Regions from separate parts of the Homo sapiens genome. Here regions 2, 3, 4 and 5 are each linked to region 1. The links are contacts of gene promoters, found by promoter capture Hi-C in human tissues and cell types (Jung and others, 2019). All regions are on one chromosome and are shown on one strand. The core of a region is centred on a gene start or on the middle of the fragment in contact, and the rest is flanking DNA. Distances in the headings are between cores, read along the strand shown. Region 1 holds the start of ATP6V0C (ATPase H+ transporting V0 subunit c). Region 2 holds the start of SRRM2 (serine/arginine repetitive matrix 2). Region 3 overlaps KCTD5 (potassium channel tetramerization domain containing 5). Region 4 overlaps ERVK13-1 (endogenous retrovirus group K13 member 1). Region 5 has its middle 21 kb from the start of ABCA3.

What was found. Contacts are between HindIII fragments. The study calls those that stand out against the background at their distance.
Region 2: a contact is called between the fragment with the promoter of SRRM2 here and the fragment with the promoter of ATP6V0C in region 1, in 1 of the 25 tissues and cell types used here (dorsolateral prefrontal cortex).
Region 3: a contact is called between a fragment that was not itself captured here and the fragment with the promoter of ATP6V0C in region 1, in 1 of the 25 tissues and cell types used here (dorsolateral prefrontal cortex).
Region 4: a contact is called between a fragment that was not itself captured here and the fragment with the promoter of ATP6V0C in region 1, in 2 of the 25 tissues and cell types used here (bladder and dorsolateral prefrontal cortex).
Region 5: a fragment that was not itself captured here is called in contact with the fragment with the promoter of ATP6V0C in region 1 in 2 of the 25 tissues and cell types used here (dorsolateral prefrontal cortex and liver).

The regions. Positions count from the first base shown.
Region 1 is chr16:2,511,560-2,517,893 of GRCh38, forward strand. ATP6V0C (ATPase H+ transporting V0 subunit c) reads left to right here and starts at 2,393. Exons shown (of 3, transcript NM_001694.4): 1 at 2,393-2,623. The coding sequence starts at 2,545. RefSeq lists enhancers at 1-118, 909-1,203 and silencers at 2,109-2,588, 3,009-3,148. The HindIII fragment of the contact is 15,008 bases long and covers 1-6,334 here.
Region 2 is chr16:2,749,808-2,756,141 of GRCh38, forward strand. SRRM2 (serine/arginine repetitive matrix 2) reads left to right here and starts at 2,831. Exons shown (of 15, transcript NM_016333.4): 1 at 2,831-3,039. SRRM2-AS1 (SRRM2 antisense RNA 1) reads right to left here and starts at 2,793. Exons shown (of 6, transcript NR_027275.1): 1 at 2,635-2,793. RefSeq lists enhancers at 1,711-2,553, 2,153-2,322, 2,383-2,672, 2,554-3,396, 3,397-4,239 and silencers at 2,853-3,162, 3,183-3,242. The HindIII fragment of the contact is 13,386 bases long and covers 1-6,334 here.
Region 3 is chr16:2,690,615-2,696,948 of GRCh38, forward strand. KCTD5 (potassium channel tetramerization domain containing 5) reads left to right here. Exons shown (of 6, transcript NM_018992.4): 2 at 5,321-5,429. Among named protein-coding and RNA genes, the nearest start is that of KCTD5, 11 kb to the left of the region's middle. RefSeq lists enhancers at 1,886-2,704, 2,705-3,522. The HindIII fragment of the contact is 3,408 bases long and covers 1,155-4,562 here.
Region 4 is chr16:2,666,311-2,672,644 of GRCh38, forward strand. It overlaps ERVK13-1 (endogenous retrovirus group K13 member 1), which reads right to left. Exons shown (of 3, transcript NR_040023.1): 2 at 3,101-6,260. Among named protein-coding and RNA genes, the nearest start is that of ERVK13-1, 4.0 kb to the right of the region's middle. RefSeq lists a silencer at 3,566-3,782. The HindIII fragment of the contact is 5,955 bases long and covers 363-6,317 here.
Region 5 is chr16:2,358,907-2,365,240 of GRCh38, forward strand. It overlaps the pseudogene ABCA17P. Among named protein-coding and RNA genes, the nearest start is that of ABCA3, 21 kb to the left of the region's middle. The HindIII fragment of the contact is 3,614 bases long and covers 630-4,243 here.

The DNA.
Region 1 (6,334 bases), core at 1,143-3,642:
GCTGGGGAGGCAGGATCTCGGGATCCTGAGTAATACAGAGTGGGGAGGGAGCAGTGGCGTGACGTCAGGCTGCGGGGGGATGGGCGTGCCTTCTGCGGGAATGGAAATAGCCCAGTGGAAGGTGGTGGTGAAGGGGTGGGGGCGAGCTCAGCTTCAGACACGCCAGCTTGAAGTGTCAGGAGCCACACTGGAGACCCGGTGTGACCTCTCACACTAGAACTTAGGCAGAAAATGAATGGGTAAGAGGCCAGTGAGCACAGCTGACCCACTCCCTGCTCCTGCAAGAGGGAAGTCTCTCCACGTCCCCATGTCCCCAGTCCTGGTGTTTCAGCCACAATGGAGTTAGGTGCTCTTTGCCCACCCTACAATGTTTTGTTTGAGACGAGGTCTCACTTTGTTGCCCAGGCTGGTCTTAAACTCCTGGGATCAAGCAATCCTCCTGCCTCGGCCTCCCACAGTGCTGGGATTACAGGCGGGAGCCACCGTGCCCAGCCCACCCCTGAGCTTGGACTGTGCTGTTTCTCCATGGTGGGCTGCTCTGCGCCACCTTTCCTTGGTCTGAATTCGGCCCCAGGCACAGCCTTCCTGGCCTAGGCTTTCCTGGAGGGCTTGGAGTTATGGGGGCAGGCACTGGTGTTGCTCTCACTCAGAGGGCGGTCGGGGCTGGAATGGTGCAGGTGAGGGACAAGACGGCGTAAGATGGGGGACAAAGCCAGGGAAAGGATGGGATCAAGCAGGGGAAGGGCAGAGCTAGGGGTAGCCCTGGGTATGCCAGGACCTGCAGCAAAATTGGGGCTACAGGGCCTTGTGACTCCAGGAAGAATGAGGGCGTCTGAGATTTAGGAAGTCCGCAGGAGAGAGGAGAGTGTGTGGAGAGGGTGGCAGGCCACGCAGCACAGAGGTCCACTTGGACAGCCTGACAGATGTCCTTCTGCTTAGAGAAATGGCGGTCACCAGTGACCTTGGCAAGGGCAAGGAGCTGGAGAGGGAAGGGCAGGTGAGGAGGTGGAGACAGAGTGAAGATTCGTCTTCTCAGAAACAAGGGCCGGGCAAGAAAGAGGGAGGAGCAGAAAGGGCCTCTGGCCGTATCTGTTGCCTCCTCTCCTTTGAACCAGGACAGACTTAGGGACTTTCACGGGCTGCAAGTTCCAAGAGTGGCAGACCCAGGCTAGCCTGGGGAAGGGGCTTGAGGGAGGCTCCTGCTGGGGAAGGTGGGGCTGAGTCCAGCAGGAGGGCCAGACCAGGGGCCATGACCCCATTGCCTACATAGAGAAGGTGATGAGCCAGCATCCAGGCTACTCAGGGAGAGCTCTAACCCAGGATGAGGCCTTAGAGCTCAAAGGACACTCAGGCCTGGTGGCAGCTGCCCAGGGCCCCTGAAAGGGGGAATGGAGATCAGGCAGAGGGGGTGCCAGGGACTGCCACACAGGATCAGTAGGGCAGCGCCAGCCCTGGCTGGGCTGCTTTCACGGCTGCGGGAACCGCTCCAACTGCTCCAGAAAGACAGAAAGATGGCCCTGAAGGTGCAGGCTTTGCGTGAGTGGGTGGCTGCAAGGACAGGTGGGAGGACCAGGACGCCAGAACGTGCAGAGCCCGGGGGGCCTCCAGAGGTCGCAGTTCCGACAGGGCTTCCACCAGTCATGCCTACATCTTGAGGGGCAGAGACACACCCCACTAATGTTTGGGTCCCTGATGCAAAGGCAGAGACAGGTGCGGGGAGGGGGTCCTTTTTCTCCGAAGCGAGAGGTGAAGTCACCAACTGCTGGGTCAGAGGCAGTAGGTCTGGGTCTGGAGGAGACTGGGGACAGGGTGGAGGGAGGTGACCGCAGCCACGGGCTGGGACTTCACAGGTGTGGGCTGGGGGCTTTTCCGGACGCTGTGGCAGAGGAGGCCCGCGCGCCGCACATCTGCTGGGACCCTTAGCTCGCCCAGGATTGGTAGGGAGATCCTGGAAGACCAGCGCCCGGAGGGGTGAGGCCCCGTCTTGGGGGCAAGGCCGCGAAACCACGGCCTGCAGCTTCACGCCAGGGGTACAAAGAAAAGCGTCGCCGGGAACCCAACACCTGCAGACGACGCGCAGCCGCAGAGGAGGCGGGGCGTCCGAGGCCCCGCCCCGTATGCTAATGAAGCACACACCACACCGCCCCGCCCCGGCGCGAGACCGGTCCAACGCTGCGGAGATCCAGAGGCCGGCGGCGCCCGGAAACACCCGCGGAGGCCGAGGCAGGGCGGGGCCGGGCGCCGGGGCCGGGTCGCTGGGCGGGCGGCACAGCCCGGGGGAGGTCAACGGGCCGGCCGGGCGTCCCGGGGACGCGTCTCCCCCACGGTGCGAAGTGGTACGGCTCGCAGGGGCGGGGCCCAGGTCATGTGACGCGGCCGCGGCCGCCATTTTGTTCTGCGGTGCTGGTATTTAGAGCGCAGCGGCTGACGGGCCGGATCGCCTTCGCCGCCGCCCGCCCGCAAACCTTCGTGCCCGGCCCGTCCTCGCCCCCGCCTCCGCCACCGCCTCGGCCCGCAGAGCTTGCCCCCTCCCCACCCGCAGACATGTCCGAGTCCAAGAGCGGCCCCGAGTATGCTTCGTTTTTCGCCGTCATGGGCGCCTCGGCCGCCATGGTCTTCAGCGGTGAGCGCGGCGGCGGGAGGGACTCGGGGGCGGGGGCGCGCGCGTTGCTCATGCCCGCAGCTCGCCGGGGTCCGGTGTGTGACGTCACTCTGACGTAATCCCGAGCTGTCGGGGGCGCCCGGGCCTCGTGTGACAGCGGGCGGGGGTCGGCGCCCCGAGGGCTGCGGGGAGCCGCCGGGGGTCCGGGGCGCAGGGCGTGCGGGCCTGGCCGGGGTGTGAGTCTCGGGGGTCCGGGCCGGCGGCCCTGCCAGCCGGGTCGTGCGGTTGCGGGGGTGGGGCGGCGGCGCCGCTGCCATATTAGCCCCGGGAGCGGCGAGAGGGAGGCTGGGGTGGGGGCGCGAGGGGGGCGGCGCGAGGGGGGCCGATTCTGCGGGCAGGTGACATCACACCTCGAAGGCCCCAGTGCGCGGGCGGCGGCGCGGGTCCGGCCCAGGAACGCCCAGCCGGTCGCTGGAGCTTTCCGGCTGGTGGGGAGCCCATGTCCCCCACGGGAGGTCCTCAGCCCTCGCCCTTATGGCGGCCGGCCCCGAGGGTCAGGTGGGTCTCACCCACAGGCAGGTACTTCCGGTTGGAGCTGGTTACAGTTGCCCAATACCCGTGTCGCTGTGTGGGCTGTTTGGGAAAGCTGGGCTGAGGGCTTGGTTCGGAGAGCCCGCGGAGACCCGGGTGGGAGTGTGTGGAAGTGGAGGGAGCGGGGAGACAGCAGCATCGGCGCTGGCGGGGCTGTGTAGCTTGCAGAGGGTCTGTGCTCTGAGGTGGGTGAGAGGGTGGCATGGGTGTCCGAGTTTATGGGATCCAGTCGTTGCCCTCAGGACTGAGGCTTCCAGTTGTGGTCCTAATGAATGGAGGGGTGAATGAATGACCTTCCTTTCCCTCCCTGAGGCCTGAAGTTGGGAGGGGCTTCCCTGGGCTTGGAGAAGGGGCCTTCTAGGGTTCTTGGTGGCACCCTGCTTTTGAAATTGGGCCTTGACAGGTCCTGGGCGTCCAATTTAGTGACAATTGGTCTCCCTGGGAGAATGGCACTTGGGCTAGGGCTAGGCCCAGGAATGTGGGTCCGACGAGTTAAGTTCTGGCCCAGTCTCAGCCTCCGTGGACTGGCCTGGCCTGGTCTGATTTCCGCCTCCGTGGTTAGGTCTGGTTTTAGCTTTGATGACCGTGCCCTGCCCCACCCTGCCTGGTGGCCTGGGGAGGCTCCTAGTGCAGATATGTGGAGGGTTTGAACTCCAAACAGTCTCTGCTGACTGTAAACACCTGTGGGGTGGGGGCTTGGAGCTCTCTGTTCTCTTGCGGGCCTCCTTCTGCCTGGGCCTGTCTGCCATTCGTGAGTGAGCCCTGGCCTTCCCGTCGTGTGCAAGTAAGGGGTCATTTGTGGTGGAAGAAGTGGTCTAGACTTCTCCTTCCCCCTAGGCACCGCCTGCTCTTTCCACAGACTCAAGGCTTCTCCCAACAGGCTGCCGAGCCCTTCCCCCCAGCCTCCTCTGTTCTTTGCCCTCAGAATGCCTTCAGAGATTCCATTTTGCCTGGCCACCTGTGGGGTATTAGCTTGTGGCTGTCACTCATTCATCCAAACAATCTTGATTGAGCGCTTACTATGTGCCAGGTACTGGTAGGACAGCAGTGAACAAAATGGGATCCCCGCCCATGTGGAACTTAAATTCTAGCTGTTGCTGCTTGCCCTTGAAGCCCTGAGTTTGTCCACCAAGCCCTTTTTCTGCACCCAGCTCCTTTCCTCTCTCTCCGTCAAGACCTACACAGGTCTTTGGGCAGCCTGACCAGCAGGTGTCTGGAAATTGAGAACACGGTATTGCTGGCCTAGGCCTTTCCTGCTTATCCCTGGCTCTTCGGGATAAACGTGGCTTACTGTGGCTCTCCAGGAGCTGACCTCTGACTTCACTTGGCCAATTCAGACAACTGCTTTTTTTTTTTTTTTTTTTTTTCTCCCCTCCTCAAGACAGGGTCTTGCTCTGTTTCCCAGGCTGGAGTGCAGTGGTGTGGTCATGGCTCACTACAGCCTCAACCTCCCAGGCTCAAGCAATCCTCCTGCCTCAGCCTCCTGAATAACTAGGACTACAGGCACAGGCTACCATGCCCAGCTAATTTTTTTTTTTTAGAGACAGGGTCTCGCCATGTGGCTCAGGCTGGTCTCAAACTCCTTGTTGCCTCAAACGATCCACCTGCTTCTGCCTCGTAAAGGGCTGGGATTATAGGCATGAGCCACCATGACTGGCTCAACTTCTGACTTCATTTCTGCCTTCTCAGCATGCTTTCCTCCAGGACCTGGCTTCACCTGCTGTGCCGACCTAAACAAGCCCCCTGCCCTCCAGTGGCCTCTGCTGTTGCCACAACGCCAACCTCCAGCTGTGTCCCCAGCTCCTGGCCCTTGGCCTGCCTGGCACTGACGGATTGGTCTTAAACCGAATGAGGTCCACAAACCTCTTGCAGGCCCCCGTCCCAGCTTCCCCTTTTTTTTCTCATGACAAATGTCCTGTTCTTTCTTCATCATGTCCTTCAAGAAGTTGTCATTTGCTCCTTTTCTGTATTTCCTGTGACTTCCTCCCTGCTGGCGAGTGCCTTGTATTTTATGCTTGTGTTTCTGCAACTGCTTTCTGGCCCCCCACTCTTTCTGTGGCTGCTGAGCCTAGTGCCGCTCACAGGTCTGCCTTCTGCAGTCTGGTCAGGCTTGGCCTCCGGACTGGAGTCCAGGGTGCTCATGGTATTCCGCTCCTGGTGGCCATCCCTTTCTTCCCTGTGCTCCTCTTGGTGCCTCCTCCCCCTGCCAGCCACATGATTCTTCCTGCTGCCCTCTGTAGAAAAGGGCCTGGCTCACTTCCTGCCTCTGGTGGACTACTGGCCTCACAGGGTCCACTACTTGGGTTGCTGAGTTCCCTGTATTCAGTCTCCTGCCAACGTGTCTGCCATGCTCTGGTCTCTTGTGCATACATGATGCAGTTGGATGTGGTCCTGGGCCTGCAGTGGGAGCCCCCTAAAATGCACTGTAATTGCTCTATATGCTTGCCAGGGAAAAAATGCACTGTAACCAGGAGTTCAGGACAGGCGCTGGGACAGGCCCTGGGCCCCAGTCTGCAGGTGCACTGGGTGTTGGCATGGCATGTCTGGGCACCTCCAAGGTGGCGTGGAGGAGGCCGTGTGGCTCCCTGGCCCAGGTCCCAGCCTCCTTCCTCCCTCTATAGTCACTCCCTGGATACCCAGCACCGTCGTCTTGGGTGCCTCTGCAGGTGCTATCCAGAGCCCTTGTCTTATTGCCTTGTTTTTCTGTGACTCCTCTCTCCCGCCAACTTGGGATACTTGTCTGTGAAGCCCTTCCCCAGCACCCCCTTCTCCGCTCTCCTGGAGCATGTCTCTGTGCCTGGAGGTCACCGCGCCTGTGTCCTCACCCCTGCTGAGTGCTGGGACACAGGGTAGGCAAGTTTTGTGGCCCAAATATATCAATAAAATATGAAGAGGAATGGTAGGGGTAGTCCTGGTCCCTTCCACCTCTGACATATGTAGTCTTCTGCAGGTCAGGCTGTTTGTGTGTGTGTGTGTGTGTGTGTGTGTGTGTGTGTGTGTGTCTGTCAGAGATTCACTCTTGTTGTTTGTTTGAGACGGAGTCTCTCTGTGTCGCCCAGGCTGGAGTGCAGTGGCGTGATCTTGACTCACTGCAACCTCCACTCCTGGGTTCAGGCGATTCTCCTGCCTCAGCCTCCCTAG
Region 2 (6,334 bases), core at 1,581-4,080, 240 kb after region 1:
AGAAGTTTGCATTTTAGGAACATCACTCCGAGGTGACAGCCGCTAGGATGTCAGCCATGGCTGTCTCTGGGGGTGGTGCCCCTGTGTGCTTTTTTTCTTTTTGCTGATTTGTATATTTCCTGCAGTGAATGTGGTTTACCTGTGCATGTCACTTTCCTAGGGCTGCCATAAGTCACCACGAACTTGGTGGCTTCAAACCACAGAAGTGGGTTCCCCTACAGCTCTGGAGGCCAGAAAGTGGAGACCAAGGTGTGGACAGGGTTGTGCCTCCTCCAAAGGCTCTGGGAGAGGATCTGCAGGGCCTCTCCCAGCTTCTGGCTCCTCCTGGAGATCCCTGGCATGGGCACCGCTCCGAATCTCTGCCTGGGTCTCCTACGGCCTCTTCCCCCGGGTGCCTGTGTCCTCTTGTCTTCTTGTAAGGATGTCAGTCATTGGATTTACGGCCTACCCTAAATTCATGATGATTTCATCTTCAGATCTTTAACTCAATTACATCTGCAAAATCTCTTATTCCAAATAAGGTCACCTTCCGAATGTCTAGGTGGTTGTGAAGTTTTGGGGCACCACCGTCCACCACACTACAGTGAATAAAAAAATAAAGTTTAAAGGGAAACTAAAAAATCATTCTAGGGCTGGGTGCCATGGCTCACACCTGTAATCCCAGCACTTTGGGAGGTTAAGGGGGGAGGACAGTTTGAGCCCAGGAGTTCAAGACCAGCCTGGGCAACACAGGGAGACACAATCTCTACAAAAAACTCCACCTCTACTAAAAATAAAAAAATGAGCTGGGTGGTGGCGTGCGCCTGTAATCCCAGCTACTTGGGAGGCTGAGGTACAAGAATTGTAGTGCGTGGAGATCGTGCCACTGCACTCCAGCCCGGGGTTAGGAGTGAGACTCTGTCCCAAAAAAATAAAATAGACAAAAGACACGAAGAGAAATTTCTCCAAAGATGTACAAACGGCCAACAAGCACATCAAAAGATTCTCAGCATCATCAGTCATTAGGGTACTGCAAACCATGTTTTGTCACTATTCACGGGCATTAAATGTGCTGACTCACGCACAAAACATTCCATAAAGAATATCAGTGGGGGTACAGGAAAGGGTCTCACTGGAGGTGCTGGGGTCTTTAACCAGAAAGGCAAAGCCTTTGCCACTTTACTATGCCACTCCAGAGTTGCGGCCGGCTTACAGAAGCACCGTCCATAGATGCAGAGTTCAGACACTCCAATCTGCGATCAGAGCTCCTGCAGGAGATGGGGGTGGTGGGGGGGAGGGTCTCCCGGCTCTAGCATCTGAGATAAGTACATCCTCCCACGGGCAAGTGAAAAACAAATCTTAAAGCCGGATACGGGCCGGGCGTGGTGGCTCACGCCTGTAATATCAGCACTTTGGGAGGCTGAGGTGGGCAGATCACCTGAGGTCAGGAAATCGAGACCAGCCTGACCAATATAGTGAAGCCCCGTCTTTACTAAAAATACAAAAATTAGCCAGGCGTGGTGGCACACGCCTGTAATCCCAGCTACTCGGAAGACTGAGACACGAGAATCACTTCAACCTGAGAGACAGGTTGCAGTGAGCCGACAACACACCATTGCACTCCAGCCTGGGTGACAAGTGCGAAACCACGTGAAAAAAGAAAGAACAACAACAACAACAAAAAACAAGGGCCAGATAGGGTGTCATGCACGGGTAGTCCCAGCTACTTGGGAGGCTGAGGTCGGAGGATCGCTTGAGCCCCAAATTCGAGAACAGCCTGGGCAAAACCCTGCCTCTTAAAAACACCCCCAAATCGTAATAACAAATATAAATCCTTGCACTCAAATGGACAGTTCATTACGTGGTACCGCGTCCTGTTGCGGATCAAGGCCACCTGAGTTGGTTAGGACAGCTAAGCGGGACGTCCAGGGCTGCTCGCCAGCGGTGGGTCTAGATATGAACTTGTGCTTGAGCAGCCCAGCGTCTTACAACTCTGCTGTGAGGACGGCTGGCTGATTATCAGGCCCAGAATCACGGGCTTAGAAACATTAACAGGAAGTACGGTACCGAAAAGTGGAAACTTTAAGGTGCTTATTATTTTCCTCCTGCCTTGTTCCTGTATGTGCCGCTTCACCGGTATCACGTCCTGGGTCTGGTGGGACCCCGGCCTGGCTGCCCTACCGGAAGCTAAGAAAACTCCTCCCCCAGGGGTGGCCGTCGGGCCTCAGCCCGGTCTACAGCGGGAGAACGTGGCCCATGCTACGGGTAACTGGTTGGGCCCCTGGTGCAGGTCTAGGGCCTGCAGCCAGGCTCGGGGCCTCCGGGGGTGCCCGCTGGCTGGGGTCTGAGGCGGCTTCTCTCGGGTACGGGAAGGCGGACTGCTGTGCAGCTGCGGGCTCGCTCGGGAAACCCAAAGTCACACGAAAGCGGCAGCACCACCGCGGCTGGGATATCGTCTCCCAACATGGGGAGACAAAATGGCCGCCACGCCCCGAGCCGAAATTACATCCGGGCTCCGCGACACGCCCGAACCACAACTCCCAGAATGCTCTGCATCGACAGCGGGAGACGAGACGCGCTCGGGCGTCGCTTTGCTGCCGCTAGGCCCTGTGCTCCTCCCCGCAGCGGAAGGCCTACGAATACGCGGTGTCTTACGTCGCTTCCTCCGTTCTTCGTTGCACTGGCCAACGGGACGCTTAGTCTTTCGGCAACGGGGTGAAACCTTCCTTGTGCCTGAAAAAACGGTACTTCGCGGTGTGGCTTCGGCGCCTGCGCAAAAGGCCGCGGGGCGCACTCCAGTTCCCGGCAGGCCCCGCGACGCGCGTTTGCGTGCTGACGCACGCAGTTAGTCGTGCTGACGTGCAGCGCGGCCCAGGCGGGGTGCGAGTGGCGCAGTTGGAGCCCGTTGCGGCCCCTGAGGAAGCGAGGAGGCGTCGGCGTCGGCTGAGGCGGGCGGACCGGCGAGGCGAGGCGGCGGCCCCAGGCCCGAGGGACTCGGGAGCTCGAGCAGCGGCGGCGGCAAGACCTCTCCCCCTCGGAGGCGGCGGGCGGAGGCGGCGGGTGAGAGGGTGAGGGAGCCAGCGAGCCGGGTGGGGGAGGGGCGGCGGCCCCGGCGCGAGGCCAAAGCGCGCGGAGAACTGCCCAGGCCGCCGAGCTCCTCCGCGCGCACGCGCGCTCGACGCCCTTCGCTGGCGCGGACGCCCTCGCCTCCCTTCCCCCTTCCCGCCGTTCCTGTCGCGCGCGGGCTTCACCCCCCCCCGCCCCTCCCCCATGACAACGGCGTTCGCAGCCGCCTGTACTCGGGTTCGCGAGCGCCCTTGGTGAGGGGGGAGGGCGCGCGCCTCGGCTTCACTCCTCCCCCCAACATGTGCCGCCGAGGTGGCCTTCCTGCAGCTGCCGTTTTCGGCCCTTAAGTGGCGGGGAAGGGGCGGCGGCGGGGGGCTTGCTCCTGGACCCTTGCCCCCGGTTCCAGATCTCCTTTCCTCGGGCTTCTCTTCGGCGTTGGGCTGCCCGTGTCGGGGGCCTCCCAGACTGCGGGACGCCGCGCAGCCCCCTCCCCCATTCCGCAAGGCCGAAAATAGGCCCCCGGCGCTGCGGGGAGGGCCTTGAACTTCGTGGGCCGGATTTAAATGGTTTAGGATTCCCGGCTATCAGCCTTTGAGTTGTTAGTGGCGGGGAGAAACCCCAAATCTTAAAAACTGTGAAGAAAGTGAACGTGTTCAGTTTACATTTGTAAGGTAGACCGTGCGTTCCCTTTTTACACTTTTTCAACGTCTCCCGAGAATTCGTGTTCAAACTAAGGAGGCTTTTGGAGACCTTCGTTGGGAAGAAAACGCCAGACTCATATATAAGTTTTCTGGTTGGTTTCAGGCGTTCTTTGGCACACAGCTCTTCTGAAGCTTGGTTTCCACTCGGCTTCAGTTAGGACGAATCTGGATCAGAATTTCAGAGTGTTGTGTTGTCTTTCATCCTAAGTGCGTGGGCTTAGGGCTCTTCTAAAGCTACTATTTTAGCTTTCTGGGTTCTTTGTGTCCACTCAGCCGCTCTGGAGCGCCCCGGTGCTGAGCTGGCTGTGCTTGCTGATGTCCATTTTTTTCGACAACCCTTGTCTCCCCTTTTTCTCCCCTTTTGGTACCGTTTTCTTTTTTGCATATTTTACTGTTGAATTCAAATATATCTTTCTACTTCATTGTTAGCTTACCACTCGGATAATTTCCCAACAGAAAAGGGTGTTTTTGTCTTCCTTTGTACTTTTTACTTTCTGCTTTTAACTTGGGTAACTTTTGCATATCCACTGTCTATGGCCCCCACTTTAAGAGTTTTGTAATATCGTTTGGTTTGGTGATTTGTGTGTGGTGTTGATCTTCCTACTTTCTGTGTCTTAACACACCCCTTAGATGCCGTGGGGTCGTCGTCTTTTTTTGTGGGGTGGACTAGGTGGCTCATTCCCTAAAAGTTCTCCGAAACATTGTGACCTAATATCCTTTGCTTAGCACCTACTGGTTTTTCTTTTTTTTTTTTTTCCGAGACGGAGTCTAGCTCTGTTGGCAGGCCGGAGTGCAGTGGCGCGATCTCGGCTCACTGCAACCTTCCGCCTCCCGGGTTCAAGCGATTCTCCTGCTTCAGCCTCTGGAGTTGCTGAGATTACAGGCAATCGCCGCCGCCCAGCTAATTTTTGTATTTTTGGTAGAGATGGAGTTTCACCGTGTTGGCCAGGCTGGTGTCAATCTCCTGATCTGGTGATCCGCCCACCTCGGCCTCCCAAAGTGCAGGTGTTACAGGCGTGAGCCACCGTACCCGGCCTGGTTTTCCTTTCTTAAGGAGTGGGGGGATTTTTGTGTGAGGTGGTATGGAAGTGTGGGTGAATGGTTAAGCTGAAGAATTAAGTGCAGGTCAAAAACATGCTGCAGGGGAAGCAGAAATTAAGTGGGGTAGGGGAGAGGCGAAGAAGGACCTAGTTTTAAACCGTGAGGAGGATTGGTACTAGAAGATGAAAATGAGGATTGGGGTGTAGAGAAATTGATTTTTTGAGCCATACAGTTTTTCATTTTTTCCTGGATTTCTGCTTGCCTTATCCAGGTTTAGCCTCTTCTGTCACCTTCTGCTTTCAATATTGGGTCTGCTACTGGGCTTGGGTAGGGACCCATCCTTAGGCGCATGCGCTAGTATATTTTTCCAAACATTTGTATGATGCTTCTTCATTCTGGAATTTTCTAAATGCATCCTTCCCTTCTATCCAGTTCTTTTACATCTTTGATTACTCTCTCCGCTTTACGTATTCCTTAGGGTTTTTTCTTAGTAGTATTTTCTCATATATGCATGTTCTAGGAAACTATCTTGGAGAGGATGAGGGTGAGAAAGAGAGTATATGTAATAGGAGAAAGGAATAGAGTATGTGTAGCCAAGGAATCTAACCAGGAAAGCTGGGACTTGAGAATTTTTCAGAATCACGTTAGGGTTGGGACAAGTTGAAAGGCTAGAACCTGGGAGGAGGCATGGGGTTAACACAGGAGAGAAGGAAGAGGCAGGGCTGAGAGAGAAAAACTAGGAAGTGCTATCCAGGGGATTGGTGGGGAAAGCCAACGGTTGGACATTAATGAAAGTGGGGTGTAGAGAGGGTTTCTACATAGATTTAGGGCAAGGTATATGGAGAAGGTATGGGAACGGTTGGAACAGAGGAGGCTGGTTTGATGTGTTTAAATAGAGCAGAGTTGAAAACAGGTAATATTTGACAGCTGGCAAGACAGGGAGGAACTGCAAATTGTTGTAAATCCTATTGAGAGGAAGGAAATTGAAGGAATAAAATATCAGGATAGTTGATAGGATCTTTAAATATTTGGAATCAAGGAAATGGCCCTTACCTGGGAGGTGAAGTATATGACGATTATCCAAGGTTCATGTGTGTTTCTGATGTGCATGCTGGCCTTTAGTTGGGGTGTGAGGCTGCACATTCTGAACCAACTAGTCTGCTGTTCAGATACCTAGGGGCTGTGTAGTTTATTTCATATTCGTATAGGGTGGTCTGAAATCCTTAGGTAAGTTTTTGGGAGAGTCTTTGGACATGGACTAGAGGCCGTTGGGTGCCACAGATCTGTGTCTGGTGTTTGTTGTGACCAGGAGGCTTTGGTTGGTTACCAGAGGTTAGGAATTAGAGTAGTTGGTAAACACACCACTTGTGCATTTTGGGGCCAAAGGAGAACAAAAAGGGACAGTGTGGAGAGATTTTAGAGGAACAAGATCCTTGTTTGCCTAGGGTGGAAAAAGAAGAAAATTTAGGTGTAGGGAGGGATTATTTAGAATTCTGTGCAAGGGCATTGAGAGAAAGGCTGTAAGAACTGGGCTGTGATTTGGTAGA
Region 3 (6,334 bases), core at 1,609-4,108, 180 kb after region 1:
AAGAGCACCCCCACGCCCAGCCCGCAGCATCTCACTGGCTTCCTGGCCGCCTCTCCTCATCCCAGTCGTAGAGGCGTGAGCGGGCCGGGGCATCTTTCCTTCCTCGTGTCATGGGGGCTTGGGCAGGCGCCGCTGATGGCCTTACGGGCAGCACAGGGGCCCTGCCTAGGTTGGCCCAGACGCTGTTCTAAACCTCCCCGAGGTGACCTTGCTGCCTTTGTCTCCATGAGCCTCGGAGTATATCCTGAATTTTGTATGATTTTGTGTTTCCCATTTTCCCATGTTCCATATTTTTTTGTTGTTTCTGCATCAGGGTGGAGGCTGATCCACATCCCCAACACCAGCAGTGAGCTGCCGAGGCCCTCGCGCCTGGGCTGGGCACTGTCTGGGCCTGGGCTGGCACCACGAGTAGCCCCCGCACACATTAGGCCGATCTGGAACATGTGGGCTCACCCGAGCTGGGAGCACCAAGACCCTGCCTACATGCTTGGAAGCGAGTCAGGCCACAGCGAGACCCGAACCCTGGTGGGATTTGGGGGTCCTGGTTTAAGACCCTGGCACTTCCTATGGATGTGGAAATCTCTCATTGAAAGCTTCAAAGAGAGCAGTGGTGAGAGCAGCACCTCCACACGCCACTGCCTCCCCGCCCTGGTGCGGATGTCCCTGACCTTCCGCTCTGCCCAGACAGGGCCTGTTTCTCGAGGAAACCCACCAGTTAGAAGGAACCCATGGGAAGAAACGGCCGGAGAGCTGTGAGGCCAGCCACAGAAGAGCCAGTTTTGGAATTTCCCACCAAGGGTTCAGCCTACTGCTCGCCCTTCAGCCTCTGGTGCCCGGCGGCTCAGCTGGGTTCTAGGGCCACGCAGGGCTCTGCAGTGTCACTCCGGGAGAGGGCTGTGGGGGCAGCTGCAGGCCCGGCGCGCCGAGTCCACGCAGCCTGGGTAGGTCCTGCATGGGCCCAGAGGTCGTGGGGCTCAGAGAATTGAACCACGTGGGAGGAGTGTACTGTGGCGGGGGCCCCATAGGAAGCCCACTGTCCTGGAGGCACTGGGGCGGCGGGGGTGTGGAGCGGCTGGCAGGTTCTTGGTAGACGCAGCTGGGGTTCTCTGCTCCTCTGCCCTGCAGCCTTGGCTCCCAGCGAGGTTGGCAACAAGCATCTGGACTCCTGGAAGTCTTCCAGAGGCTGCTCCTTTCAAGTCTCTTCCTAACTGGATGCACGTGGGGTCCCCCGCGGTGCCTCAGCCTCCCCTGCCTTTGATGGCTGGGTATTTTGCACCCAGGCTGCTGGCCCCTGAGCACAGGGATGGGCTGGAGCCACAGGCTGCAGGGAAAGCGCATCAGGAAGGTTCCTGGGGCGTGCGGTTCCCACACAGGTGCGTCCGGGGGCTTCCTGGTCCCTCTGTCAGGAGCCTGAGCTCCAGGGACTGAGACGAGCTGGGCAGAGCCTAGCCACTGTGGCCAGAGCTCTCACTGCCAGCAGGATCTCTCTTCAGGCACCCTGGAAAGGTGCCATGGCTCCGGCTGGTAAACTTGGCCTTGCAAAGCTCCACGTCCCTGTGTCTGGATGTGCCCAGCCCTGCTGATACGGTGTCTTTAGGGTGTCGCTTTTCTGGCCAGAAACGTCTCTGGCCGGCAGCACCTTTGTCCAAGTTCCTGTTCTGCGTCCAGGAAGAATGAGGTAGCAGACAAGTGGAGGGTGAGCATGACGAAGAGAAGCTTTACCAAGTGTTGGGACAGTGCAGAGGAGACTGTGGGGGCAGCTCCTCTCTGTAGGCAGGTCGGCTCATTCAGTTGGCAGCTCTCAGCAGAGAAGCGGCCCCGGACTGGCTGGCTCCTCTCCATTGACTTCCCAGCTCTCAGCAGAGAGGGTAGCTTCCCTCTGCAGCTGGTCTTCCACTTGCCAATTGTCTCTGTCCTCTTTGTCCTCTGCCCTGCTCTGGCTGAGCCCAGGGCTCTTATGGACCCAGAGGGAAGGAAGTGCATACTAATTGGTTCATGGGCAGGCCCGGAAAACGCACCACAAGTCCCCACTTTGGTCCCCGGGACTGGCAGCCCGGCCCCAGCCTTCATGCCCTCCCTGGCCTGAAGGTGGGGCCTTACCGGGGACCTACCCCCTTCTTCCCAGGAATCTATCTGCCTCCTGCTGCCATACATGGCGCCTGGGCTCGGCCCCAACTTTGCTCCAAGATCGGAGCAGGCACCAACAATAGGAGTAAGCCAGGCAGTGAGAGCAGGCACTTCTGAGCCTGCAAGGGCCCGGCAGAGGGGCCTTTCTGGGCCCCCAAGAGTGCAGGGATGCCTGAGGCTGTGGTTTGGGCAGCTGCAGTTGTGGGCCTGCCTGCTCCGTGGAGCGGGAAGCCCGGGTCTGCAGCCATAGTTTGGGTGGGGCGAACCCCAGGGCTGCAGCCCCAGGCAGCCCCACGCAGATCCTCCTCCCGAGGCCCGGGAACCTGACATCTTCAGTGGGGTGGGTGTGATGGCTGTGCCACTGGCTGGGTCCTCACCGCTGGTGCCACTCTCACTACCCACCCCAGGCCCCCGAAGCACAGCCCCAGCTCTGCATCGGGGCCCCTCTCCACCCAACCATGCTGCTCTCCTGCCATGCTGAGGGCAGTGGGCTATGGTGTGGGGAGTGGGGTCTGTTCGCCTCCTCCCTGTTCCCTCCCTGCAGCGGCAGGTATCACGTGATGGCAGCAGCTGCACCAGTTGGCCTGCTGCTGGCATCACCGCACTGGGCCAGCTGTGGCCAGACTGAGGTCAGGAGTTCCTTCAAAGCATCAGCCACAAAAGCTGCCTCCTAAAGGGGGTGTTTAATGGAAAAGCCAGCCCCGCCCAGTGGTAGGAGTGGCCAAGACACGGCAGCGGCCTACCCCTGCCTGCCCGTCTTGAGGCCGAGCCCAGTGCCAGCACGCTCAGTGCCCTGCCGGCTCCTTGGACCTGTCTGTGTTCCTCTGTCCTGCTGTGCAGTTTCCGCCGATGGCCGTCCCCACCCTGCCCTCCTTCCCTCCTGCCTTCATCCTTCCAGTTGCAGGGCTGGGGTTGCCTCGTGTGTCTGGGGGCGCCCAGCACGCTTCCTTCTCCTCTTGCACCGGCCCAGGGCCTGAGAAGCACATGGTGGGTTGTCTTGGCCTAGAGGTCACGGCTCAGTGCCCAGGTCCTGCCACAGGTTGGGTGCCCTGGCACTCATGGCGGCCCCGAGCTACACGAGCTGGTCTCCCCCACCTTTTGCTCGTAAAGAAACTGAGGCTTGGGGTGGCCTGGCTGTGAGCCTGCAGTCTGACCACTGAGGCCAGGCCTGGAGGCCTCCATGGCTGACAAAGGGGTTCTCTGGGGTTGTCCTGGGCAGAGGCGAGCCTCCGCCCTATCTGATCTTTCCTGACCTCCTGCCAGCGGTCTGTCGAGGTAGCAGTGAGCCGTGAATAATTCCTGAGCTGAGCGGTGTGCGGACGTCACGCGGCCAGCATTCTCTCTGTATGGGGGTGGGGCAGGGAGGAACCCTGGACTCGGGTGGCAGCACTGGCCGCCTTGCCAGACTTGGGCCCCTTTGTGGGAAATGGTGTCCATTTTTTAGCAGTTGCGCAGGACCGCCCAGCGTCCTCTTCCCGGGAGCTGGCCCTGTGGCCCCGGCCCTTGCTTGAGAGCTGTGGAGTCTGGAGGGCTGGGGAAAGGCAGGGCCAAGCCCAGGAGGCAGGGCCTGTGGGGTGGGCAGCTCTGGCTGGAGTGTTCCGGGGGAGGGTGGGGAAGGAGGATAGGGTCAGGTCTGTGTGGAGCTGGGGTCACCCTAAGGAGTAGGGGGGCCGCCGAGGCTCCGGGTCCAGCGCCCCCATGCCCGGAGCCCTAATTGATTTTATCTCAGCCACAAAACTCAGTCCCTGTGATCTAAAAAGAGCAGGTTGTTGCAGGTTTGCGGTGGTGGACTTTGGGAAAATCTCTTGAGACCACTAGGTCTTAGCACCCAAATGGCAGAATTTGTCCATGGATGAAAATAGGGTCCTAGCGTGGCCCCGTGCTTTGTGGTGGAGACACCTTCGGCCTCCCCATATCTGCGAGCCTGGCATTCCCGTGGCCAGCGCCTGCCCATGGCCCCACAGGAGCCACCATCTGGTGAGGGGGCTGCTCCTGCTCCGAATGGGGTGTGGGGTTGCTTCTCCAGCGCTTGGCCCTGGGCCTCGCCGGGGAGGCTGCCGGTGTTTCTGAACGGAGGCCTCAGCTCCCCGGCCTCCAGGGCACCCGCAGGCACCAGCCCCTGTGGGAGTGGCTCGCAGGTGGGAGCAGGACCCTTGCAGGCATGTGGGGGGAGGCAGGAGCTGCCCCAGCAGAGCCACACGGAAGGTCTGAGTCTGTGTAGAAGACAGGCTGTGCCAGCTTCGCAGTCCCCCCATCAGATGTGTAGCCGACAAGACAGAAACTGCCTCTTCCGTCTCCCCCATGGGGGCTGCCTGGGGCGTCTGAGCCCCCGTCCTGTGTTCACGGCCGGGCCACTGGGGCTCTTGTGCTTTGTGGAAGGGGCTGCAAGGTGTGATGTGTGGGGCACCCCGGGCCTCAGAGGGCATCTGCCCACATTGAAGTGGCCGTGGTAGCAGCAGGGGCAGTGCCTCTCAGGGGTCCCTCCACCCAGGTGCGTGAGGACACCTTCCGAGGGGTCTGTTTTGTAAACATCTCGGCCTCCGTGAGCGCTGAGCCGGGGCGAGGGCTCTGTGAGGTGAGTGATGATCTTGGGGAAAGCCCCGGATGCTGTTGAGTGCCGGTCACTGTGGCCTCCCTCGCTGCTGGCTCCCGGCCTGTTGGGCAGCCGCCCCTGCTGAAAGGTGCCCTCTCCACCCCTGGCAGGAAGCCCCTGTCACCCTGACCCCCGGTTCCTGCATGTAGGCTGCGGAGGACCCGGGCACGAGGAGCGCAGGCCCAGGCTGGTGGCCATCAGAGGTGTCCTTCTGAGGCTGAGCCCTAGGCCCCTGCCCTGCCCGCGAGGGCATCTCTGGGTGAGGTTTTCGTGTGTGTTTTCCTAGAGGTCTTGCAGTTGTGAGGACAGAGGTCCAGGGCACAGTGGGCTCACCTTGGAGTACGCAGAGCCAGGCTGCCTCCGTACGGAGAGACTTAAACTCACTTAGACCTGGGGTGGTGGCTGGTCAGGGTTAGGCTGTAGGCGGCAGGACGTGGCCACACCGTCAGGGGTTTCCTGAGATGCCGCAGGCTCAGGTGTGCTGGGGAGAGGCCTGGGTAACCTGGTGCCTCTGAAGCCTCCTGAGGTGGCCGGGCCTTGGTGGACCTGCAGGAACCTTCGGCTTCTCACGGAGGACTCACCGTGCTCTGCTCTCTTTAGGATGAAACAGGCGCCTATTTAATCGACAGAGACCCCACCTACTTTGGGCCTGTGCTGAACTACCTGAGACACGGCAAGCTGGTGATTAACAAAGACCTCGCGGAGGAAGGTAAGCCGAGTTTTGGGCACAGGTGCCTTAGCTTTGGGGGCAAGGGCCCGACAAAGGTGCCAAGGGCTCCACTTAAGACACAGATGCCTGCAGCCTGGGGCCCCAGGGAGGAGCAGGCCCTGTACTCTGAAGCTGGGGCCGACGTTCTGGTGCTGAGGCCACGGGCAGCGGCGCAGCTGCCGGACAGGGAGGCCTGGGGACCCTGTGGGTGTGGGGTCCTCCCTGGCTGCAGCTCCTTGGAGGGCTCCCTCTGTCCAGGCTCCGGCTGGCGACACAAGGGGTGTGAGGGGTTCCTCCCTGCTGTGACTGAGGTGGTCTGAGCGGGTGTGTGAGGCACATGCCCGGTGATGCCCACGGCGTGCTTCAGGGCCTGGTTCCCTGGCCTGCTCTCCCTCAAGGACAGCCCAAGGGTGGTGAATGTCTCTGTGCCATCACCTGGACTGTGCCTGCTGCTGCCAGCTGCCGTGTTCCATTCTGAGTGATCGTGGTGCAGGGACGGCGCCCACACGCGTTGGGCCCAGGCTGGCCTGCCTGTGTGCTGCGGTGCTGGCTTGGCTCAGAACAGCTCGAGGCCTCGCCGTGAAGGCTGAGGGTTTCTGGGCACCTGCGTGCGGGCGTGGCCCTGCTCCCCCGGGTCCGTGTCTGCGCATCGGTCTGCACTGGGCAGCGTCTGACTCCGTTTCTGTTCTGGGCCTCTGGGCCTCGGCATCTGCCTGCCTCCTCCGAGTTCACGCGGGGCGTGGAGTGACGGGGGCTGTGGCCCAGCCCTGCCCCTGCTCTGAGGCTGTGAGCCATGATCCCCACTCCTGTCTCTTTGGCAGGGAATGTCTTTCACATGTACTCTCTCTGGTCGCTTGGGCAGCCGCTTGTGTTGTCGTGGAGCCGCTCGAGTCGAGGCTTCGCTT
Region 4 (6,334 bases), core at 2,090-4,589, 160 kb after region 1:
CGGAGCACACAGGACGAGTGTCAGAAATTTTGCTGGCCCAGTAGGCTGCTTTACCTTGATAATCTGTGCTACCAAAACCTCCCTTTCTTGTACTAGAACTAGATCCCAAAGGAATGTAAGGAAATATCAAGAGTTGAGCAATGCGGTCCCCAGCTGCTGCATTCCAAGGGACTGCAGAGCTAATGATAATATGAATTTTACCTGAATAGTCAGAATCAATTACACCAGTATGTACTTGAACACCTTTTAAATTTAAACTTGAACGTCCCAGTAGCAACCCGACACTGCCAGTCGGCAAGGGACCAAAAACACCTGTAGGAACAGCAATACGTGGCTCTCCAGGCAACAAAAGAAATATTTCTGGTACAACAGAGATCTACTGCTGCTGAGCCTGTGGTGACGGGGGACAAGCATTGTACTGAGATTGGTGTTGGGGCTGAGGCATTAGATCCTGTGGCACAAATTGCTGAAGTGGGAATTGGGGTGGAGGTTGAATGGATTAAACTGGGAAGGCTCCTGTCTGGCTGGACGCCAGCGGCTGAGAGTTGAGGAATGCCCCATTGTTTAGAGGGGGCTGGGGCCGGCCCCTCATCCCGTTTCCCTGATTTTTAAAAGGCCGTACAGGATTGCCATCAATATCAAATCTGGAATGGCATTGAGATGCCCAGTGAAGACCCTTTTGGCTTCGTGGGCATACAGCAGAAGGTGGGGTGTCTTGTTGCTGAAAAGTTTCTTTTTGTTGTTGGTGGTGATGTAAAGGACGGCCACCTGCACGCCGAGGGCAATTTCTTTCTGCATGTCCCTTCTGGCCGCATATGAAGCATTGGCCAGAGAATTGTCCAGGCATTCGAATAGAGGCCATAGCTTGTGCCATAATCGTTGCTGTATGGAGAGTTCCTCCCACCCCTTCACAGGCTTTAATGTAGGAGGTGAGTATATCACCACCCGGTGGAATTTTACCTTTGGCGGGGCAAACAGCCGCCTGACCATCTGGATTTGCTTGTTCATAAGCCATAAGTTCTACAACAAGTCTTTGGCCGTGGCTATCAGGAATAGCCTTTTCTGCTGCGTCTTGAAGACGAGTAATAAAGTCTGGGTAGGGCTCATGTTGTCCCTGTCTGACGGCTGTGAAAGATGGGCATACTTTACCATCATCTTGAATTTTGTCCCAAGCATCTAAGCAACAATTTTCGCAGTTGTTCAATAACCTCATCATTTAGTATAGTTTGGTGTCGGATTGCGGCCCATTGACCCATTCCCAGTAACTGGTCAGCCATAACGTTAACAGGAGGATTAGTGCCCTAAGACAAATGCGTTCCTGGACAGCATCAACCCACCAAGTCCTGAACTGTAAATATTGGGATTTAGATAAGACTTGATTTTGCCAAAATTTCCCAATCATAGGGTACCAAACGTTTATCTTCTCCTAAGGCTTTTAATGTGGAACGGACAAAAGGAGAGTTGGTGCCATATTGTTTCACTGATTCTTTAAAATCTTTGAGGAATTTAAAAGAAAAACTTTCCCATGTAGCAGGGCGTAGCTGAACCTGGCCTGGATGGATGGGGTCAGGCTGAATTACCACCTGAACAGCGGGAATGCCAGGTATTGGCTGTGCCCCAGGAGCAGGCAACTGCGGAGGCTGATTATTTACCTGAGCAGCCTGAGTTTCGGGCTGAGGGGCTTGATTATCAGCCTCTTGATCTTGTTGAGCTGCGGGGTCAGCCGCCTGCTGGGCAGGATCAACAACAGGCTGTGGGTGGTTTTGTACTGCTGGGGTGGCAGGTACTGGAGGTTGTAAAATTACAGGAAATTGCCAAGTTTCAGGATCCCCATATTCCCTTGCTTGAACTATAGCCCTCATAAGCGGAGTGTCATCTTCAGGGATGTATGTAATTTGTTGCTTATGAGCGGCAATGGTAGTATTGGCAACAGCAGTTGCGACCGGACCAGGAGCAGAAAAAGAGGTAGAATTTTGAATAGAAGGAGAGTCAAAAAACTGAAAGCCAGGGTGACAGCAGATTACCTGCTGAGCAGGTCTTTCATGGGCCTGAAAACCAGGCTGCCACGGCAAGTGTGAACCAGGCTTCAAGGGAGTCTGTGACTCTGAGTCCGATTTGCAGGAAAGGAACCAGGCTTCAAGGGAGCCTGTGACTCTACCCAAGTCTGATTTATAGGAAAGGGACCAGGCTTCAAGGGAGCCTGTGACTCTGAGTCCGATTTGCAGGAAAGGAACCAGGCTTCAAGGGAGACTGTGACTCTACTCGAGTCTGATTTATAGGAAAGGGCTTCAAGGGAGTCTGTGACTCTAACTGAGTCCGATTAGGAGAAATAGGATTGAGGGCCTCATTACCGGGCCGAGAATTGGAAGCCTCTTTTCTGAGCTGTTCATATAGCGGAGCCTCTGTACCGGGCTGCATAGAAACATAATTTATAGACTCGTTTACAGGCTGCCTGGTCTCATCTGCTATTTGCACAGCGGCAGCGTTGAAACAGTGAGGAGAGACAGGAGGGTCTGGCTGCAATGGCTGTTGATATGTTTCAGCTGAGTTTTGCTGATTGGGGGAGATTAGTATATTTAGGTCAGTTAAAAGATCATCATAAAGCGGCAATGGGGGTGCAGTAGCCTCTGGTGTAGGTGGAAGTGGTGCAGGCATGTCAGAGTGGAAGTCCTCCTTTGAAATTACGTTCTCAATTTGTGTAGTATCCTCAGGGGAAAGAGAGCTGAGCGCTTCCTCGACCTCCCTCAGAGGAGAGGAAAGAGGGATCAGTCTCCATATTGTCCTCCTGAGTCTGTAAGGAGTCTAAGACAGAGTGAACCGAAGCCCAGATTGACCAAATGGTGGGTGGGATAAAATGTCCCCCTTTATGAGCAATTTTGAATTGTTTGCCAATCTCAACCCAATCTTTAAGTTCTAGAGTTCCCTCAGTCGGAAACCAAGGGCAAAGAAGATCTACAACCTCAAATAGTTCAATTAACTTTTCAGTAGAAACTTTAACACCTCCTTCTTTAAGAAGAGTTTTTATAAAATTTAAATAAGCCAAATACTTTGTACTGGCCTGTCCCATGGTGTCCCCAGAAAACTGAGTGCTCAAGCTTACCACCAAGTTTATAGACTGCAATCCTCAGGAATCTCTCGTTGAACTCCTCCGCTGATCCCGCACTCAGGGTGCAACTTCACACAGCGAGGGAGAGCCCCACGTCAGAGCGCCAGATGTAGGGACCAGCCCCACAGGGTCGGTGGGTCTCTCCCTGTGTGTGGCGATGAGAGAGTGTAGAAATAAAGACACAAGACAGAGAGATAAGAGAAAAGGCAGCTGGGCCCGGGGGACCACTACCACCAATGCGCGGAGACCGGTAGTGGCCCCGAATGTCTGACTGCGCTGTTATTTATCGGATACAAGACAGAAGGGGCAGGGTAAAGAATGTGAGTCACCTCCAATGATAGGTAAGGTCACGTGGGTCACGTGTCCACTGGACAGGGGGCCCTTCCCTGCCTGGCAGCCGAGGCAGAGAGGGAGAGGAGACAGAGAGAAAGACAGCTTATACCATTATTTCTGCATATCAGGGACTATTAGTATTTTCACTAATTTACTACTGCTATCTAGAAGGCAGAGCCAGGTGTACAGGATGGAACATGAAGGCAGACAAGGAGTGTGACCACTGAAGCACAGCATCACAGGGAGACAGTTAGGCCTCCGGATAACTACGGGCAAGCCTGACTGATGTCAGGCCCTCCACAAGAGGTGGAGGAGCAGAGTCTTTTCTAAACTCCCCCGGGGAAAGGGAGACCCCCCCCCCGCCCCTTTCCCGGTCTGCTAAGTAGTGAGTGTTGTTCCTTGACACCTTTTGCTACCACTGGGCCACGATCCGCCGGGTAACGGGCGTCTTCCCAGACGCTGGCGTCACCGCTAGACCAAGGAGCCCTCTTGTGGCCCTGTCCGGGCATAACAGAAGCCTCGCACTCTTGTCTTCTGGTCACACCTCACTATGTCCCCTCAGCTCCTCTGTATGGCCTGGTTTTTCCTAGGCTATGATTATAGAGCGAGGATTATCATAATATTGGAATAAAAAGTAATTGCTGCAAACTCATGATTAATGATATTCATATATAATCATATCTAAGATCTATATCTGGTATAACTATTCTTGTTTTATATTTTATTATACTGGAACAGCTCGTGTCCTCTGTCTCTTGCCTCGGTGCCTGGGTGGCTTGCCGCCCACACCCTCTTACTACTGGGAGCTCACCTTGCCAGCTCTAGACTCAGCTTGGACTGGCTGTCAGGGCAACGTTGCGTACAGGAATACATCACACTATGCACCAGACCAGCCACATAAGGAGGAACTCCCCAAAAGGAGAGAGAAAATCGAAAGCCACTTCTCTCCATGCTCCCTGCTTCTCCCCTCACCTTCCCCTAAGGATGCAGCCACCTTTGCAAAAGACAGAACCACCCCAGGGAGGGCAGGAGGCCACTCTGCCTAGTCCCCCAATTCTACCTTCAGCAAAATCATTATGTTTCTTTGTTCCAAAGGGAGGATTCCAAGCCTCACCCATTCAGAGTATCGGCCCTCAAACAAGGCCGAATCACAGCCTCTTCCCAAACAGCTGCTTTCTGACAGCAGGAGGCTGAAACAGGCCCCGGGGTCACAGAGTTCAGCCATCTGCCAAAGAAATATGTACAGTTCTTCCATATGAAGACACCCCTCCTACCTCCAGCACGGCATGGTCAAGACATTCAGGCCCAATCCCCGGGAAGACATCCTGGGCAGTGGCACTGAAGATTTCCTTACAGAGTGCTGGGCTGAGCTGCCCGGCAGACCCTCCCTCGGGGGCTCCGAACGTGAGGGGCAGGGTGACACTGGAGTCTCTACCACTTATGAGGCAGGTACCTAACGCCTCTGCAGCTCAGCTTCTGCACCTGTAAAATGGGAACAACACGTACCTCGCAATGAGGTGTGAAAGTACCTAGGGAAGCGCCTGTCTTGAGTAGTCAGATCAAGAAATGGTACTCACTGCCTCTGGCCCACTTACCATCAGACTGGGCCAGGCCACTGTCTGCCTTCACGCTCGCACTGCTCCCCCTGTTGGCTGTCCACGCGGGCACACAAGGGAAAGTTCACTGGGAAGGGGGCTTCTCACACAGGGCCTACAGGGCCACCCTAAAGTCCAGATGCAAACCCACTTGAACCCTGAAGATCTATCCATCCTCAGGTGAAAATCCAGTATCAGGGCTGCCTCTACCATTACAGACAGGAAACACGGCATGTTCTCACATACGTACACATGGGGGAATCCAGCTGACAGAGATGCAAAACGCTTGTTCGTGACACTTCCTCATGTGGAAATCCATCTTGCATTCTATCATTCTTGCTCACTGGATTCCAGTGTTTTTGTGCAAAAAAGCCATCTCATGCGAAGAAAACTGCAGATATGAAATGTCCATCATGTGGAACTGCCAAGGCCATGAGAAAATTTGCTGTTTCCTCTTCCCGTGGATGACACCAAATACACACCTTGCATTGGAACAGCGTTACTGGGTGCGAGTTAACCTCACAAACTTCGCCATGACTGTCACTGGGTGCAGGTTAACCCCACAAACTTTGACATGACTCTCGGCCCCAGCCTCCACTGAGCCTCGCCAAGCCGCCTAATTCATGGTTTTGCGTGTTAGCCAGGGCACTCTGGGGTACAGCCACACATGTCGAAATAGCGAAAGGCATCCCTTTCAGCCCTCCAACTTTTTCTCAACAGAACCTTCTTCCTTAACACTTCGGATTATTACGCATCTCTACAAACTCCACGAGTGAGCTGCAGAAGGTTCAAGAGCCTCCTGATGTAGTTACAAAATTCAGTGTCACTCTGCATTTTTCTCAAAAGAGGGCCCATACCTTCCCCGGTCTCTACTAAAAACACAAAAATTAGCCGGGCATGGTGGCACACGCCTGTAATCCCAGCTACTCGGGTGGTTGAGGAAGGAGAATCGCTTGAACCCGGGAGGTGGAGGTTCCCGGGTCAAGATCGCGTCACTGCACTCCAGCCTGCGCGACGGCAGCGAGACTCCATCAAAATAAAATAAATAAATAAACAAAAGTCGCATCCTGGAAGATAAGGAATCAAGTAAACTTCTTGGGTTTTCCTTCATTTAAAATATTTGCCTTTTAAATCCAATTTTAAAGCCATGTAGACGTTCTTCCATCACCCACTGCACATCGCATGCAAGGCATAAATTTTTAAACCGTCGTCCCCAGACTGTAGAACTTAGCATATGGAAAACATAAAAACACGAGGGATACTTTTAGCGACAGAGAGAAAATAAACACCAGCGATACAT
Region 5 (6,334 bases), core at 1,187-3,686, 150 kb before region 1:
CTATTGAAGATGCTGCTTCTAAAATTCTTATATTCAGGAGAAGGAAACACTGTCTCTGTATTTAAGGAAGTAGCATTACAGGAAGTACAGTAAGAGACAAGAGACACAACACATCCAAGAAGGAGGACTTTCCAGGAACAATAGTCATATTTTCTCCATTCTCCGTATTTATATGAGTCTTGTTTCTTTAATTTCTTTTGTGCAAAGTTAGAGATGCTTTCACCTGAGAAAAAATATATTCCCCTTTCTTTCCCCACTGGAAAAATGTTTTCTGTAAATGAAAATCTCATTTTTGTTATAATAATAGTATCTAAAAAATTAAAGCATGTATTACACTTGGGAAACAAAAAGATTGAGAAGAGAAGGAACTTTCTGCTATCCGAGGTATTTTTCTTTCTCGCAGTCATTTTTGCTTCAGTCACATGCCTACAAAGACTGCATACCTTTTAATTCATTCATTCATTCATCAAATATTTACTGAGTTCCTACCATGTGCCGCCTCTGTTCTTGTGTCTTGGGATTCAGTGTTGGAAAAAAAAATCAGAACAAACAATTCCTGCTTTCACAGAACATAAATTTGAGTAGGGATGTCAGATTAAATAAGCAAATAAATAGCATGTAAATCATTTAAAAGTGCTAAGAAGAAAAATAAACATGGAAAGTTGATATGACATCTATAGGGATGTTGAAATTTTATATAGAATGATCAAAAAGACCTCACTGAGAAAGTGACATTTGAGGAAATATCTGAAAGTAGTAGGGGAGCTAGAAGTGTTGATACACGAGGGAAGTGTGTACTTGACAGAGGGATATGAGTTTTGAGGCAAAAGTGTGTTTGGTGTGTTTTAGGAGGAGCAGCTATGCCTGTGACACAGGAGCAGGGAGAAGGAGAGAAGTAAACTAGGAGACAGAATGACATGAGAAAGTGAACAGGAACTATACCATGTACAACTGTGTAGTTCATTGTAAGGCAAGGCTTTTGCTTGGAGTGAGATAAGAGCCAGTAGAGAGTTTTGAACAGAGGAGGAAGCGTAATCTGACTCAAAGAGGGTCGCTCTTATTGCTGCATGGACAATGGATTGCAAAGTGGCAAGGGCAGATGTACTGATACCACCAAAGAAGGTATTGCAGAAATCCCGGCAAGGGACGATAAGAATAGGGGTGGTGAAAGGGATTGAATTCTAGGTCTATTTCAGGGGTAGAGCCAACAGGATTTGCTGACTAACTGGATTTGAGCTGTGAAAGAGAGAGAAGTCAACAATAATCCTGTATAGAATTAAATACTGTTGATATTTTGGTATTTAACCTTCCAGTTTTTTATATACATGTTCATAATTTTATATATTTTTAATTAAAATTGAAGTCATCCTCTACCTACTGCTTGTAACCAGTTCATTTTGTAACATGTTGCTTTCCTGTGTCATTAAAAAAGAATAAGCCCAGGCCAGGTGACTCACGCCTCTAATCCCAGCACTTTGGGAGGCCAAGGTGGGCAGATCACTTGAGGCCAGGAGTTTGAGATCAGCCTGGCCAACATGGTAAAACCCCATCTCTACCAAAAAATACAAAACTTAGCCAGGCATGGTGGTGGGCACCTGTAATCCCAGCTACTTGGAGGCTGAGGCAGGAGAATCGCTTGAACCTAGGAAGCGGAGGTTGCAGTGAGCCAAGATCGCATCACTGCGCTCCAGCCTGGGTGACAGAGCAAGACTCCGTCTAAAAAAAAAAAAAAAAAAGAAAGATAATAATCCTATATAACTCAAAGAATGGAACTGACGTTAACAGTGAAGAAGACTGTAGGACAATCTTTTAACAGGAATAAGAAAGCTCAGTTTGGGCATGTCAACTTAGATGAAACACATGGAAGTATTAAGCCGGCAGTTGGGTATCTGGATTTAGAGTCAGAGGCAAGGTCTAGGCTGGAGATACAAATTTAGAAGTCACCAGCATATAGATGGATTCAAATCTAAGAGCTGAGTGAGATCACCTAAGGAGAGCACAGACTGAGCCCTGGAGTGCATTTAGAGGTTGGGAAGAGGAGGAAGTATCAGCAAAAAGACTTAGAAGGAATTCCTAGAATGATAGGAGGAAAAGTAGTCCATCACAATGATCTGGAAGCCCCAAAGAAGAAAGTTTTCAAGGACGAAAAAGTAACTCTTAACACTTTTGTGCTATGCATAACATTTTCCCTCATTTGTTTCCTGACTAGTGATGAGCCCTCCTCTTCAGCTAGGAAAATGACGGTGTTCAGAAAGTTAAAACTTCTTCGCTGGAAGGATTTCATCTTAAAGTTGGTATGGTTATCTGTGGGAAGATATAAGTCCTTGGGGGGGATTGAATGTTTAAGTTAAATTGGTTCATAATAACGGGTTAAAGAACAATTAAGAACTTTACATGGAAAGGGGCCCTTTTCTGCAAATGAGTCATGTAATTATTAAAGATGACATCATTGTTACTGATTTCTGGCCATTGGAGTTACAGAAAGGCTAAAAGGAGATGTTTCAAGCTAATTCTTACTCTGTGTTTTTCTTTTTCGTGTGTTTTGCAGGGAGACTGGAAGAAATTAAAGTGTTCTAAATGGAAGAGCATTCACCACATGTGTTCTGTTTTGGGTTGACATTTAGCTTTTGTTTTTATTTTAGAAACGGAAGACTCTGGTAGCAGTCCTTGAAATCTTGATGCCATTGCTATTTTCTGCATTGTATTGTATCTTCGTTTTAGTAGTGCTCCAATAAAAAGACCTGCTACTAGCTGCCATGCAATTGATATCAGTTTGTTGCCAGACTTCTACAATTTTCCTGAAAAATAGATTTCAACTAGTTTATATCCCTTCTATAAGTGAAACATTGAAGGCTGTCACCGAAATGGTGGAACAGATCTTTGATGTTGAGTTTGAAGGTTAGATGTAAATATGGGTAAGGATCGGGAGGACATTTTTATAAAGTACAGTTTGAAGTTTTTCCCCGAGAGTTCTTACAGTAGTGATTCTAAATCTAGTGTCTCCAAATTCTAAAGAGCCTATGAGGTGGTAGTTGGGGGGAAGCTGTCCATGAGATATTTTTATTATTTCAAACAACATATGGAGTCTTGTCTATATATGTCAGAAGGCTTCAAGGCTAATTAAAATGTTAAATGTTAAGTATTTGTTTTTAACTCACTATCATGACACCTATTATCTCATATTAATCCAAAGGTCTGATTGGCAATTATATGTCTCTAATAAAAAATGGAAGGCATTCAGAGAGTCAGAGGGTCTGAAATAGCTTCTAACTTGTTAACTGGTCTCTGCTTCTCCTCTTGTCCCATTCTAATCCAGTCTCCGTGTGGAGGCAGAAAGATCTTCAAAAGCTCAATAGGATCCAGCTAGTCTCTAGCTTAAACCCCTTCAGTGGCTTCCCATTGCCCTGAAAGAAAACCAGCTCTTCTCCAGGTTCTGACCCTGCTTTTTTCCCAGTCTTATCTAGTTTGGCTCTTTATTGTGCTCCCACACACTGGTCATGTTGGTCTTTTACTTCCTAGAAAGCAGCTACATGAGGTTTTCTCCCAATAGGGCCTTTGCAGCAGGTGTTCCTTCTGACAGTGCTTTGCCCTCAGCCTTCCCTGTGCATTGCTCCCTCTTAGTCTTCACGTTTCAGCTGAACTGATGCCTAGGAAAGCAGCTAAATCGGTTTTAGGTTTCTCACCTCTGCCTTATTCTCTGTCACAGAACCCTGTTTTATACTTTCTATCAAAAAGGGAATTTTAATAAATGTTTACATATATATTCACTTTCTTGCTTCTGTGTATTGTCTGCCTTTCTCCACTAGACTCCACCTCCATGAGGGCATAGGAACCATGTCTGTTTTGTTCATCACTGTGCCTGTTGTAGTACCTAGCACATAGTAGGTGCTCAATAAATATTTATTGAATAAATTAATGTAGTTAGGTAGATAGCATTCTTCAAAATATGTAGTTTATAGGAGAAATTTTTCAAAATTACTATAATTGCTCTACATGCTATTGTAAAAGTATTCTAATAATATATAGGGCATAAAGTGAATAGAGATTTTTCCCTCCAAGCTTCAGTGCCACTCAATGGGGATAATAATTTTTTTTTTCTTTTCCTTTTTTTTTTTTTTTGAGATGGACTTTCGCTCTTGTTGCCCAGGCTGGAGTGCAATGGTGAGATCTAGGCTCACTGCAACCTCCGTCTCCCGGGTTCAAGCAATTCTCCTGCCTCAGCCTCCTGAGTAGCTGGGATTACAGGCACCCGCCACCACGCCTGGCTAAGTTTTCTATTTTTAGTACAGATGGGGTTTCACCTTATTGGCCAGGCTGGTCTCAAACTCCTGACCTCAGGTCATCCGCCCGTCTTGGCCTCCCAAAGTGCTGGGATTACAGGCATGAGCCACTGCACCCAGCCTGAGTGAGGATAATTCTTTTAAAAGCTTTCAGTTCCAGGAGTTTGAGACCAGCTTGGGCAACATAGTGAAACCCTGTCTCTACAAAAAATAAAAAATTAACCAGGTATGGTAGTTGATGCTTGTAGACCCAGCTACTTGGGATGCTGAGGTGGGAGGATCTCTTGAACCTACAGTGAGCTATGATTGCACCACTGCACTCCAGCTTGGGTAACAGAACGAGACCCTGTCTCTAAAAAAATAAAAAATAAAAATGCCCTCAGTGGTAAAATGTGGGGAAATCACTGTTTTGAAAGTTGTGCTTCAGCCGGGTGCAGTAGCTCATGTCTGTAATCCCAGCACTTTGGGAGGCCGAGGTGGGCGGGTCACTTGAGGTCAAGAGTTTGTGACCAGCCTGGCCAGCATGGTGAAATTTCATCTCTACTAAAAATACAAAAAAATTAGCCGGGCGTGGTGGCACATACCTGTAGTCCCAGCTCCCTGGGAGGCTGAGGCAGGAGAGTGGCTTGAACCCAGGACGTGGAGATTGCAGTGAGCCGAGATCGTGCCATTGCACTTCAGCCTGGGCGACAGGCCAAGACTCCATCTCAAAAAAAAAAAAGAAAAGAAAGTTGTGCTTCATGCTTGTCTGGTATCCTAAAATACTATGTATTCTAATTCAGTTACCTTATACATATGAGATTATGAAATTTCTTTCTTTCTTTTTTTTTTTTTTTTGAGACAGAATCTCGCTCTGTTGCCCAGGCTGAAGTGCAGTGGCGCCCGTAATCCTAGCACTTTGGGAAGCTGAGGCAGGCGGATTCCCTGAGCTCAGGAGCTCAAGACCAGCCTGGGCAACACGGCAAAACCCTGTCTCTACTAAAAATGCAAAAAATTAGCCGGGCATGGTGGTGCGACTTGTAATCCCAGCTACTTGGGAGGCTGAGGCATGAGAATCACTTGAACTCTGGAGATGGAGGTTGCAGTGAGCCGAGATCAGACAGAGCAAGACTCCATTTCAAAAAAAAAAGAAAAAAAATCTAGATGAAGGAAAGAACCCAAAGAGATCAGTGGAGGCCCTAAACTGCTTTTGATCAAACATTCATCATACTAGGGGAAATCGAATGCTCGTTTTCATAGACTTGTAAGGCACAGAGGGAAAGAAGAAAAAGTTAAGTCCCATTCAAGGTGGGGTGTATATCATGAGACTATCTCCCCTTAAATCTAGGACCCCATATGCTTACATTGTAGTGGTGGTACTTAATGTAAGGTTGTGCTGGATGTAAACATGCCCCCGACTGCCTGAATGTTGCCTTGGAACTGAGCACAGCAGGGAGGGTCCTAGCTCTGAGATTTGTAGCTCAAATTCACATCACTTGGCTGTCAAAAAAAAGGAAGGAAGAAAGAAGGAGAGGAGGGAGAGAGGGAGGGAGGGAGGAAAGATGGAAGGGAGGGAGGGAGGGAGGGGAAGGGAAGAAAGAAGGAAGGGAAGGAGGGGAGGGAGGGAGGAAGGAAGGAAAGAAGGAAGGGCAGAGGGAAGGGAAGAAAGGAAGGAAAGGAAGGAATGAAAGGAAGGAAGGAAAGAAGAAAAGAAAAACCCCTCGAACTGTGAAGTGGGACAGTGGGACTCAGATTGACAGATGCAAATATATATTTTTCCTGGAATAATGTACCCTCCTTCTGTATCTCAAGACTCACCACAAGAGTATCAAGGTCAGTGAGCAAACATACTAGGAAACAGGACACCAAGGATGATTATCACTATGACAACAGACAGCAAAAACAGACCTGGAAAGATTCCAGATAATGGAATTATTAGTCTCGTGTTATAAAATCCCTATGTTTAGCTGGTTTGAAGAAATAAAAGACAACGTAAAAGGATTTATAGGTAGCATGTCATTATAGTCACCTAGCAAATTTGGGGAGAAAAAAGGAACTAGAACTTCTAGAAATGA